2 separate regions of the Homo sapiens genome follow, and region 1 is linked to region 2. Evidence: promoter capture Hi-C in 16 types of primary human blood cells and fetal thymus (Javierre and others, 2016). All regions are on one chromosome and are shown on one strand. The core of a region is centred on a gene start or on the middle of the fragment in contact, and the rest is flanking DNA. Distances in the headings are between cores, read along the strand shown. Region 1 overlaps SCFD2 (sec1 family domain containing 2). Region 2 holds the start of USP46 (ubiquitin specific peptidase 46).

The links. The method cuts DNA at HindIII sites, captures the fragments that hold promoters and counts their contacts. A CHiCAGO score of 5 or more calls a contact.
Region 1: a contact is called between a fragment that was not itself captured here and the fragment with the promoter of USP46 in region 2, in 1 of 17 cell types (M0 macrophages). The highest score is 5.5, in M0 macrophages.

Annotation. Positions count from the first base shown.
Region 1 is chr4:52,949,619-52,955,294 of GRCh38, forward strand. All of the region lies in intron 5 of SCFD2 (sec1 family domain containing 2), which reads right to left. It overlaps SCFD2-AS1 (SCFD2 antisense RNA 1), which reads left to right. Exons shown (of 3, transcript XR_245255.4): 3 at 1-1,404. Among named protein-coding and RNA genes, the nearest start is that of SCFD2-AS1, 25 kb to the left of the region's middle. RefSeq lists an enhancer at 662-1,599. The HindIII fragment of the contact is 878 bases long and covers 2,058-2,935 here.
Region 2 is chr4:52,657,011-52,662,906 of GRCh38, forward strand. USP46 (ubiquitin specific peptidase 46) reads right to left here and starts at 2,291. Exons shown (of 9, transcript NM_022832.4): 1 at 2,105-2,291. The coding sequence starts at 2,140. It overlaps USP46-DT (USP46 divergent transcript), which reads left to right and starts at 2,396. Exons shown (of 2, transcript NR_125363.1): 1 at 2,396-2,666; 2 at 3,882-4,488. RefSeq lists silencers at 1,745-2,264, 2,275-2,704. The HindIII fragment of the contact is 3,165 bases long and covers 996-4,160 here.

The DNA.
Region 1 (5,676 bases), core at 1,247-3,746, 290 kb after region 2:
TCAGTTCCTCCTGGTCCACTGGCTCCGCTCTCAGCACTGCAGTCTCTTGTGACCACGCTGAAGTCTCAACGTTTCCCCCTTCTGAGGACATGCAGGGACAGAAGGGTGAACCACAAGGGCCAGACCTAATGCTCCAGGAAAACAATGAAAGAACAATTTTCCATCCTTTTATTTAGGGCTTAAGTAAGCCAGGCCTGTAACACCAAATTGTGAGAGTGCACAAGATGTTTTTGAACCTTGGTGCAGAATCCAGAAAGAAGTGCAGCCTCTGGTGACAGGGTCTTGGGCTAGCCATGTGAAGCCTGGCTTTATGTCAGGCCTCTCAAATGTGCTGTACAAACCTACCTGCAGGTCTACTCTAGGCAGAAGGGGTGGACCGATGGCACCAACAAACACATCTGTACACACAACAGTGCAGCAGACACTTGTGGATGGGGTATGAGACAAGCTGTAGATGCCCTCAATTAAATCTGAGGACAAAAGAAGACTGCCCAGAGAGTGGCACTAGCATGGCAACAAAATATTTCAAAATATTAATGGGTTTTACATACACGCATAAAATCACATTTTTCTGACCTTATAACACATTTCAGTCATTTAGGTATTGAGTTTGTAATGCTTGTGGATACTCGAAAAATTGAAAGAGGCAAAGTTAGACTTCTTGTCCCCAAGACTGGAAATATGTCCCTTCGTTGGGAGTTGGGTGGTGTTGAATGCAGTTGGGGTGGAAGGAGAGGAGAGCTAATGGGAAAACAAAGAATAAGTAAATGTTCTACATTCCTGAGAAAAGGGGCCCTGCCCCCTAGCCATCTCTGCAGCAAAGCCCTGGGGGAGAGAGAGAGAATGCTCAGACATGTTTGTAGGTTTACAGAACAAAGGGAATCTATGTTTTACCCTTTGAATGAAATACAGGAAAGCAAAATACCTAGAGCAGAAATGGCTGTGTGACATGTCAGACAAGGTCATAGAGTTTTCCATGGCCCTGCACTGCCCGTGGCTCATGTGGCATGACTGTAGGTGAAACCCAGAATGGACTCTCAAGGTGCCCTGGGCTCCCTTCCTCAATGGCTGAAGAAGGCTTCTCTTGACCTAATGGAGTTTAAAGAGACTTGGGGATATAGTGAACTAGACCCCAGAAGCCTTTCAAACAGGAACTAGGGGGCGCCCACCAGGACCTTGTGGACTGACAGTGGAGGCTCAATGAGACAAAATGTGTCATGGAGATGCCTTCAGGACAGACAGCATTCGGGAACAGATACCAGCTCCTTACAGTCTTGGCCTCCAGATTAGACATGGCCCTGGAAAAAGGTGATGGGGGACCTGGAATTACCAGACAGCAATTCCGTTCCCCCACTTAGTGGAATGGGAGCACAACATGTAAATTAAAGGAATTAGAGAAAAACATTTAAAGTTGCATTTGTTATACACCCGAACATTTATCCTGAGACTGATGCCCACTACACTGGTAAAATCAACCCATAATAGATGTGTTTAGTTTGGGACTAACATACTCTAAGAGGTGGCTTTGATTGATTGATTCATTCATTCATTAATTCTCTCCCTCCCTTCCTTCCTCCCTGACTCACCAAAGAGCCAGCCATTCTGCTGAGTATTAGCAATGTTTTTCTTTAAAAAACTCCAAACACCTATTTCCTGCCCTCAAGATTTAGAAGTTTGGCTAAGACACGGAGAAGCATAGAGAGGCAGAAACAGAAACACTGACGACTAAATCTAATGCAACATGGTAAGGTCTATAACCAACATGCATACTACATTGTCTAAGAGCACAGAAGAAGGCTTGTTAACCTGAGACTGGGAAATCTTTGAAAACTGACAACTCCAATCTAGCCAACCAGTACCCTTAGAAAGACTAACTTACGATTGGAAAGCTGTAATCGACTCAATTATATTGAAAATTTGGGGGGATGTGTTGTGGCAGAAGCATCATCTGCATACTGACTATCTGTAGGATCCACCTAATTTTCCAGCCCCCTAGCAGTTAGGAGAAGTCATGTGATTAGTTCTTGTCAAGAGTCTGTAAGAAGTGATACTCCAAAAGCTTACACGAGACCCTCCAGCTCAGCTCTTCTTTCCCCACCATAGTTTCTGTGGAGACCTCAAGATGGTGCAGCTTTGAGCTGTCTGAGCCTCCATCAGCCTGGATCTTTGAGAAAGTATGTGAAACACAAACCTCACTGAGCCATATTGAACATGTAAAATCAGCAAGAAATAAGGTCTTAATTGAATTAAGTCCTTGAACTTTTTGGGTTAATTTGTTACTGCAGCAAAACTTAATGGCGATGGAGGATTAAAAAAGGGAGCTGGATTACAAAAATGCATTTCAACACTGTGCAGAGGAGAAGGCGCTCTACCCCTAGGTGATCAGTATCTTAAGAACGAAGAGATGATGGAGTGGCAGGCCACAGAGTGATATCTGTACACGGAGACAGTACCTAGAGATGAGCTCAGATGCCAGGTTGGTAAGAGAAGCCTGGACTAGAGGCAGAAGACAGGAGGAAAGCAGGAAAGCCACACTTCTACTTTCTCTCTGTTCGTCTGTCTGAGTAGTAGCCCAAAGCCACTCCCTACCATATCCCCTCTCACCTCCCCATCCCCTCTCACAGCCCCATCCCCTCTCACACCCCCATCCCCTCTCACACCCCCATCCCCTCTCACACCTCTGCCCCAAATGGTCCCACGTGAGGCCCAGACAGTAACACACCACCATCAGGCATCTTTCTGGGGGACAATCTAAAGGCAGCTGCCCTCCTCTCTGCAGGCCCCTGCGGTCTGCTCCAAGGGAATGAATAGCTTCAGACTTGGCACCTTAGAAAGGCTGACAGCTCCTGAGAGAGAAAGCAAGTAAGTTCAACAAGGCCCGTTTAATTTTACTCCAGAAAAAAGTTTATCTTCTCTCCCACAAATAGTAAACATAAGCTTTAAAATGTTTCCATTATTACTGCAATAGTTAATTTTAAAATTTTAATTTCTTTTGAAATAGGCAGTAATCACATATGGGCAACATCTAGGTGACCCCAGCATGGATTGCTGAAGGCCCCTTTCTTTCCTGATACATATCTCATGATTTAGTGTGGAACAGAAAGGTTTACAGCATTACAATCTGTTAGAGATAAGGGGACACATGTTGGAAACAGGTCCATTAGAAAAATGATGATCCTTTCATTCCCTAAATGTCACTTACCTTCTCCCCCACCTTTTCCCAGATAAAAATAGAAATCTTCATGTGACTGAACCATTCCCTGGGAAAGTCACCAAACAGAAGGGAACCAGTGATAAAATGAATGCTAACATCTTGAAATCTAGTAAAAGTATCTTTTTAGTAGCCACAGATAGCAGAAAAGTTTATAACTTTAAAATGTCCCATAGGCCCAGCAACTTTTTCTGCTGGGTAGGGTGAATATGAAGGCTCCTTGGAAAAGTATAAACAAACGAATAACAGTAACAACAACTACAACACCTAGATGGCTCCATTATCTGAGTATTTACAGAGTGCCTGGTACTACTCGGTGCATTACCTTCCTCAGTCCTCACAGTGAGTCCTTGGGAGAGTTACTATCACTGCCTCCACATGGCAAATGAAACACTCTAAAAGCAGCCATTTAACTACAGTAGTTTCCAACTATAGAGTAAAGAATGTGTAACTAGGTTAGTTTGCTTTATAACCTATAGACCTGGTGTCAGTTTATGCCAATGACTGTGATTTGGACTAACATGGGATAGCCAGCCTCAAGTAGACCAAAAAGGGAAGGGACCTCTACTATGTCTACAAGATAGACAAGTTCACAGACAGCGCTGGACACCAACCCTGCCAGCTATGAATATTCCCGATCTAGGAATAAAGAAACAAGCTCAGGGAGGTTAGATCGCTCTCTAAAGTCATGCAGCCCCTGAAGGTGGTGTCAAGGGGAGTCAAAGCATTTCTTTAGCAGCGCCCTGTGAATTCAGTTTCCTTATTCAGGAGACAGGGATTGTGAGGAATGAATGAGAAGATGAACCTGAAACTGCTTTGTCAAGTGTCAAGGGCTGCACAAGTGTGCAGAGGATGGTGGTAAAATCCCAGGAGAATTAATCATCAAGAAGATAATTACCAAGGGACTTACATTAGAGTTTATCCAGAAAAACTACTTCATCCAAGCCAACAACAATGCCAGGACAGCACTGAAATGAAAAGGCTGGGCAGGAATATTTGATAAATAATAAGATTAGCAGTGTACAATAAAGGACAGATGGGCACTTGTTGATTCTTGTTTGGTCAAACACCATTTTATAGTGGAGTGGCTGAGACCATGGACTCCTGGGCCAGGCTGCCTGGGTTCAAATCCTGGTTCTGCCACCTACTAGCTATGTAACTGTGGGTGAGCTGCCTTACCTTTCTGTGCCTCTGCTCCCTCATGGCAGATGGGGACATTCCAAGTACTCATGGCATGGGGTTGCTGTGACATTCACAGGCAGCACAGGGAGCAGTGCCTGGCATAGAGGGCTGCCATCTAAGCATGAGCTGCTCCCACATCCATTTTCCATTCTTGACAGTAAACTTGCTTTCTGTCACCACAACCTCCTCTTCAGTGGCAGGTTGTCCCCAAGTCTTTGGTCTCTCACCTGCCTGTGGAGGACCGGGCTTGATGGGTGGGAAGCAGGCCCCATACCAGGCCAGTCTGAGTGCCTGTATTCTTCTATCAAGTATGTCTTTAGCCTCATCTTCCCATCTTCCTCAAATCTGTGGAAGGTGAGGAAGATGATAGAAGATTACAGGCACTCAGTTCCAAAGATGGAATGCCACTGGAAGGTGAGGAAGTCGGGCGGGTGGCTACAATCCAGCTCCCTTGGGAATTCACAGTTGTAATCTTAACTTGAAAATATTCAGTTGGGCCAAATGAAATTGCTGTTTTGGTAGGTCAAAAATGGCTGAAAAGCAGGAATTTCATATTCCGCCACCTAATCCACATGGGCAAACAGATCAAAAGCTCAGAAAAGCAGCAAGAGAAAGGAACAAGCAGTCTAGGAAAAATCATAAAGGGTGAGTCCAGAGAAAAGTAAATAAAATAACCATGGCTTACACAGCTGCATCAGAATCAAAGAAATGCATAAATTAAGTCCAGGATCTAATCATGTCCTTTAGCACAAACATTAGCTCAAAGAGCTGGCGGTTTTGCAGATGTACACATCTGACTAAAAAGTGGGAAGAGGAGGGATTCTTCCAGGCCATAAAAGAGACATGGAAGAGGCTCTGTCCTCCCTCAAGAAGTGGCTCCTATCTGTACGAGTACACACTCCTCTTTCATCTGTTGCTTTTCCTCCCTGTCCTTTTGATCCACAAAAGAGAACCTCCACCCACCCCTCCTGCTCCTGACGTCAAGCCGTCTCCCACACAGTACCCCATTCTTGAGACTTTCCTCACTCCATCTGGTGGCTACTTTCCTCCCACCTTCGAGCTTCACCTTTGTCCTCTCTCCCACAAGGGCAGCCCTGTTTAGGAGGAAATAGAGAGCAGACAGGGGCTCAGCTGTCCACAGTGGGCAGCTGGGGTTCCAGGATGCTCCCTTTATGCTTGCATTGGACAGGAGAGCTTAGGGCAGTGGGTTTTCAGAACTGTTTTCTGTTCAGTGCTAAGAGCAAGAGGTCATCCCAGCATCTTTCTCTTCCAGCACACCTTTG
Region 2 (5,896 bases), core at 1,041-3,540:
CCAGCCTGGGTGACAGTGTGAGACCTTGTCAAAAAAAAAAAAAAAAAAAAAAAGAACCAGGACCTGAACCCAGGAAGTCTGACATTAGAACCCAAACTCTGTCACTCTCTAGACATGGCGTCTAAATACAACATCAGACTCCTTACTTAATGAATTACTGGTTCCTCACTTCATCTGGGTGATGGTCCTAAATTTGGTACCTTTTTAGGTCTCCACCTGAGATGTCAACTCTCAGGGCAGTATTGGCCTGCTCCTCTCAGGTCCTCCCCACACCCTGTCTCCCTGACTGAGTTTCACTGAAACACGTTGTGACATTCAGCCCAGGTGTGCCAGAAAGCCCCCGCAGCACTGAGGGTGGGTGGGGGGACGCGTGGGGGGAGGTTGGGGGCTGGCTTCCTCTAGGGGCATGCTAGCTCTCAAGTTTCCAGCCTGCTTCTACACAGAGAGGTGTAACCACACACAAGCAGGACAAGAACACCACCAAGGGCTGGGTCGGAGCCTCACTACCCTGTAGTATCCTTAGGCCTGCGGCCACACCAACAGACATAAAAGAGTATTCAAGCTGCTCCCGATTCACAGTTCCCTCAGGAACTGGTCGTAGGAGAGAAACTGAGAAGGCATCACCTCTTCACAAGCAGCCCCTCCACAGGAATAAGAGGAAATCTGACTCCTCGCAGAGAAAGGAAAAAAAGAGAAAACAGAAAGGCTCTAGGATCCACTCCCCGTATGGAACTCGCCCGGCACCAACCAGTACCTGTGCAGCTATCACTCTGGGAGGCCCCAGCATTTGCTTTGCTGGCCGTGACAGTGGCACGTCCCATTGTGCTGAAAGCTGAAGCCAGCGGGTCTCAATTCCACCCCTGAGCTAACACAAGGCTTCTTAATGCTCCTTTGCCATGTGTTGATCTTGCAACAGAATGTGGGACAGAAGATTTAAAAAGCTATGTGATGGGGGAAGGGCAGCCAGATCACCTTACACCAGGGCTTCTCCATCAAGCTTCCTTGGATTCCCTTTAGGGGCCAGTATTACTAGCTTCAAGGGAGGTTTTCCTCAAACTGGCACTGTAAGAGCACGTGTTGCCTCCGGGGACCCGCTTGGGAGGGGGCTAGAGGGGAGGCGGGGTGCAGTCTAAAGAATGTAGGCAAAACACACATCATCTCACCCTGCAAGGGACAGCAATGCCTTACTCCAATCTGAGCTCCCCAAAGGCTCTGACAAGTGGAGGCGCCAGCAGGGTCCAGCCTGGGGACCCAAGGGCTGGAGGTTCTTCCTACAGAAAAAGGGAAAGCAATGGGGGAAACCCAAATTAAAGTGACCACCGCATCATGGGCTCGGACTGCATCAGAACCCAGTGATGTCCCTGGCTGTATCCATGCCCGCCAGCCTCCCCTAGGTCTACAGCGGATCAGGCAGGATAACCCTGGAGACCTCCTCCAAGCCCACAGCCCGCCCCACCCTTAGGGCCTGCAAATATTACCGCCACAGAGCCTTGTCCCTTTTTCACAGATGGGGAAACTGAGGCATGCGGAGCAAATTACGGTGCTTTTTCAAACCAGGTTGAAGTTCACTTCTCCAGCCACAATTTTGCACTTTTTTTACAGCTTTATTACATTTCCGATTTCTCCAGATACACAATTGCTATTGCAAAGTGAATTTTAAACACCTCGGAAGGACTGAACTCAAAATGAGATGAGGGCAGTCTGGACGTCCAATAAGGCTGTCTTGACCGCAAGAAGAGGATGGGTGCCCCCCACCTCCAGCTTATCCCCCACCCCCTCCCCGGGGACGTTCAGGTTCGGTCGCTTCCCTTCCCTCAAGCCGCTTCCACCGCAACCCGAGGGCGGGGGGCGCAGCAGCGCGGCCCCGGGATCGCCGGGCGGGTTCCGAGGTCCCGGGGCTGAGACGGGCGCCGGGGGCTCGGGGACCCTCCCCGGCCGCTGAGGTGGCTGCGGCCGCGCGCCCAGCTCGGGGGCCGGGAACTTCTGGCGGCGCGGACCCCGCCGCCCCCGCCGCCCCAGCCACCGGGCGTGTGTGCAGCTCGGGCTTCCCTTTCTTTGCCTCGCCGCGAGTCGGGCGCGACCCCGAGGCGGCTCGGCCACTCACCATATTACAGATGGAGGCGATGTTTCGGACAGTCATTAGTCTAAAGGTTGCAGCGATCCCTCACCGCCATCTTTACAAGGGGAAACCGGGACTGCCCATGGTGGCGCGCTGGCGGGGAGGCCGGGCGGCAGCGCGGCGGCCTGGGGTCCGGCTTTCAGTTTGGCTGGGAGAGGGAGGCCGGGAGGAGGAGGCGGCGGCGCGGGGAGGGCGGGGAGGGAGCGCGGAGGGGCGGGGAGTGGCGGAGCGAGGGAGCCTGGGCCGCGGCCGGCGGCGCGGGGAGGAGGGGCGGCCCGGGCGCGCCGCGTGAGTCCGAGCCGGCCGCTCAGAGCGCTCCAGGCTGGGTTCCCGGGCCCCGCCGCGCCGCCTCCTTCCCAGCTCGCCCGCCCAGGCCTGGCCTCCTGCTTTTCCATTTGATTCCCTGCCTCTTTCTATTCGGACTGGAATGCCGGGCCAGGCTCCGGGGCGCGCCGCTGCGGCAGCCGCACCTCGCAGGTCCCCCGGCCGACCCCGACGCGGAAGCGGCGGCCCTCCTCGCCGTCGGGGAGCCAGGGAGCCGGGGACGGTACGGTGCGCGGGGTGGGGAAGCGGGCGGCCCAGGCCGGGGCGAACCCGGGGCCGCCTTCCGTCCTCGCTTTTTCCTCGTCGCCTTCCTCCTGGCGGGCCTCGGCAGCCCCCGGTGTTTATTTTTTGGCGAGGGGTAGGGGTGGCGACGTCCAACTTTTAGTTCCTCCCGAGGGTTCCAACCAGATGGCACCGGCGGGGACCCAAGAAGTAAAATGGGGCGAGGACACCGGAGCGGTCAGAGAGCCCTCGCCAGCTGCGGGCCGGGCGCCCGAGAAAGGGCGCCGGGAAGGGGGAGGAATCCGGGTCTGGGCGGAGGCCAGCAGCGGCGCGCTCGGGCGGCTTGTGACATTAGCGGGTCCAAAGGAGACGTCCCGGTTCCGCGCAAGCACTAGGGACTGTCCAAGGAGTGGAAAGAACGAAAACAAAACTTTTCCATATCTTCAAGGCAGGCATACCCCTCTCGGGTGCACCCAGCCTCTAGTTGTTGAGATGGGCGCTGTATGGGATCATGCACATTTCCCGCATTAAAGGTCGTGGCTGCGGGCTCAGAGCGCGAGTCTGTGCACCACTTAGCAGATAGGTCCACGCGAATTGAAGGGGCCCGTTTCTGAATGTGTGGAACAGTTACACATACAAGGTTGCAATTCGATGCTTTCAAAGGAGAAATTGTACAAGTGAGATGCGTGATAAATTCTTAGATCAGTGTATTTAATGACAAATTGAATCAGAAGAAAAATTAGTTGAAGATAGCTTTTATCTAACCAAGAGTAAAGATTTGAGAGCCGTTGATTGCTAATATCCCTAGAATCTGGGGAGGAAACAGTAAGACAGACTTGTTGACTGAAGGTTTTGGGAGTCATGTCACTGTGTTTTCCAGTGGACATGAGAAATAATATTCCTGCTTAAGTCTTTCAACCTAAATATTATTTCCAAATACATCCTGATGATAATTTCTTCCATTGTAAGTCATGACTGATTTTCTTCTCTCTCTCTCTGTTTTTTAAGAGACAGGTTCTCGCTATGTTGCCCAGCCTGAGGCTGGGCAGCCCCGAGTCATCCCAAACTCCTGGGCTCCAGCAATCATCCCACCTTGGCCTCCCAAAGCGCTGGGACAACAGGCGTGAACCACTGCACCCAATGTTTACATTCCTGATCTCCTTTAATCGCCACCATAACTATCAGCTGGTACATGCTATTATCTCCTTTTTTGCAGATCAGTCACATAAGGCTTAGAGGATCAAGGATCCTGCCCAGATGACTTACCGAAATGTTACAGATTAAGTTGGTGTGGTAACCTGGGCTGAGCACTCTGGGAGAGGAAGAGAAGAGAGAAGACAGGAAACAACTGAACTATGACCAATCCCAGCACGGAGGCCCAGAAAACTTTAAGATTTGAGTATTAATGTCTCAAGGTCAGGAGCAACCTCAAGGCTAAAACTCAGATCTCAGGACTCAATTTCACAGAAGTTCCACTATAAAGGCAATAATCTAAAGCTTTAAATGATATGAAAATTTTGTAATAAGAGTTCAGTATTTCTGCCAACATTGGCGCATGGATTGCAAAGTTCACAGGATTGAAAACACCATCGACATAATGGAAATTGAACAGCATCTGATTACTGAGTGCTATATCAGCAAGTTAAAAGGATCTTTTGCATACCTTTTAATGGTATATATCCTAAAACTGAAGTGTTCAATATAGACATCCAGATTGAAACTCAGGCAGTGAATTACATACACAACAAATCAGTTGAACATGGCAGAGCTTGTCAGACTTATGAAAGATTAAATACATTTTACATTTCCACAAGTGTGGTATTCACAGGTCTAAATTGGAAAATTCTTGGGTTGAAGAAGAATAATCATAATCTTAGCTTCACTCATTGAGGAAACATTATTCAGGGATGATAAGAGGTAAAATCTTAAAAATATTGACAAGCTAATGAGAGAACTTTGAGGTAAGCTGATATGCAGGTATAGTTAGGACTGGGAAAAGCAAGAAAATGGAAGGATGGGTTAGAGGGTGGCACTACACGGCTGATATAGTTTGGATATCTGTCCCCATCCAAATCTCATGTTAAATTGGAATCCCCAATTCTGGAGGCAGAGCTAGAAGGCAGAGCCTGGTGGAAGGTGTTTGCAACATGAGGAAGGATCCCTCATGGCTTGGTGCTGTCTTAACAATAATGAGTGAGTTCTCCCGAGATCTAGTCATTTAAAAGGGTGTGGCACCTCCCCCCCCCCCCGCCCCCGCCAACTCTCTCTTGCTCCTACTCTGCCATATGAATGTTTGTTCCCCCTTTGCCTTCAGCCATGATTAGAAGCTTCATTAGGACTCCTCAGAAGTAGATGTTGGTGCCATACTTCCTGTATAGCCTGTAGTACCATGAACCTCTTCGCTTTATAAATTACCTGGTCTTGGGGATTTCTTTATAGCAATGCAAGAATGACCTAATACAGAAAACTGGTACTGAGAAGTGAGTCATTGCTGTAGAGATACCTGAAAATGTGGAAGCAGCTTTGGAACTTGGTGACAGGCAGAAGTTGGAAGAGTTTGTAGGGCTCAGAAGAAGACAGAAAGATGAGGGAAAGTTTGGAATTTCTTAGGGACTGGTTAAATGGTTGTGACCAAAATGCTGATAGCTAGGACATGAACAGAATGCACCCAAGCACTTTGCTAAGGCAAAACATGCGTGACCTTTGCTCTAGTTCCCAATAATTTCCTTATTTCCATTCGAGACCTCAGAAGCCTGGACTTCAAACCAAAATGCTGATAGTGATGTGAACAGTGAAGTCCAGGCTGCTGAGGCCTCAGATGGAAATTAGGAACTTACTGGGAACTAGAGCAAAGGTCACACAATGTTAACGCCTTAGCAAAGAGCTTAGCTGCCTTCTGTTCATGCCCTAGGAATCTGTGGAAGTTTGAACTTGAGAGTGATGATTTAGGGTATCTGGCAGAAGAAATGTCTAAGCAGCAAAGTGATCAAGAAGTGGTGTGGCTGCTTCTAGCCACTTATATTCAGATGTGGGAGCAAAGACAAAAGGTAGAACTTATATTTAAAAGGGAAGCAGAGCAAAAAAAGTTTGGAAAATTTGCAGCCTGGCCATGTGGCAGAGAAAGAAAAAAGCTTTTTCAGTAGAGGAATTCAAGCAGACTGTGGAACAATTACTTGCTAGAGATGTTTGCAGGATTAAAGGGGAGCCAAGTGCTACTATCCAAGACAATAG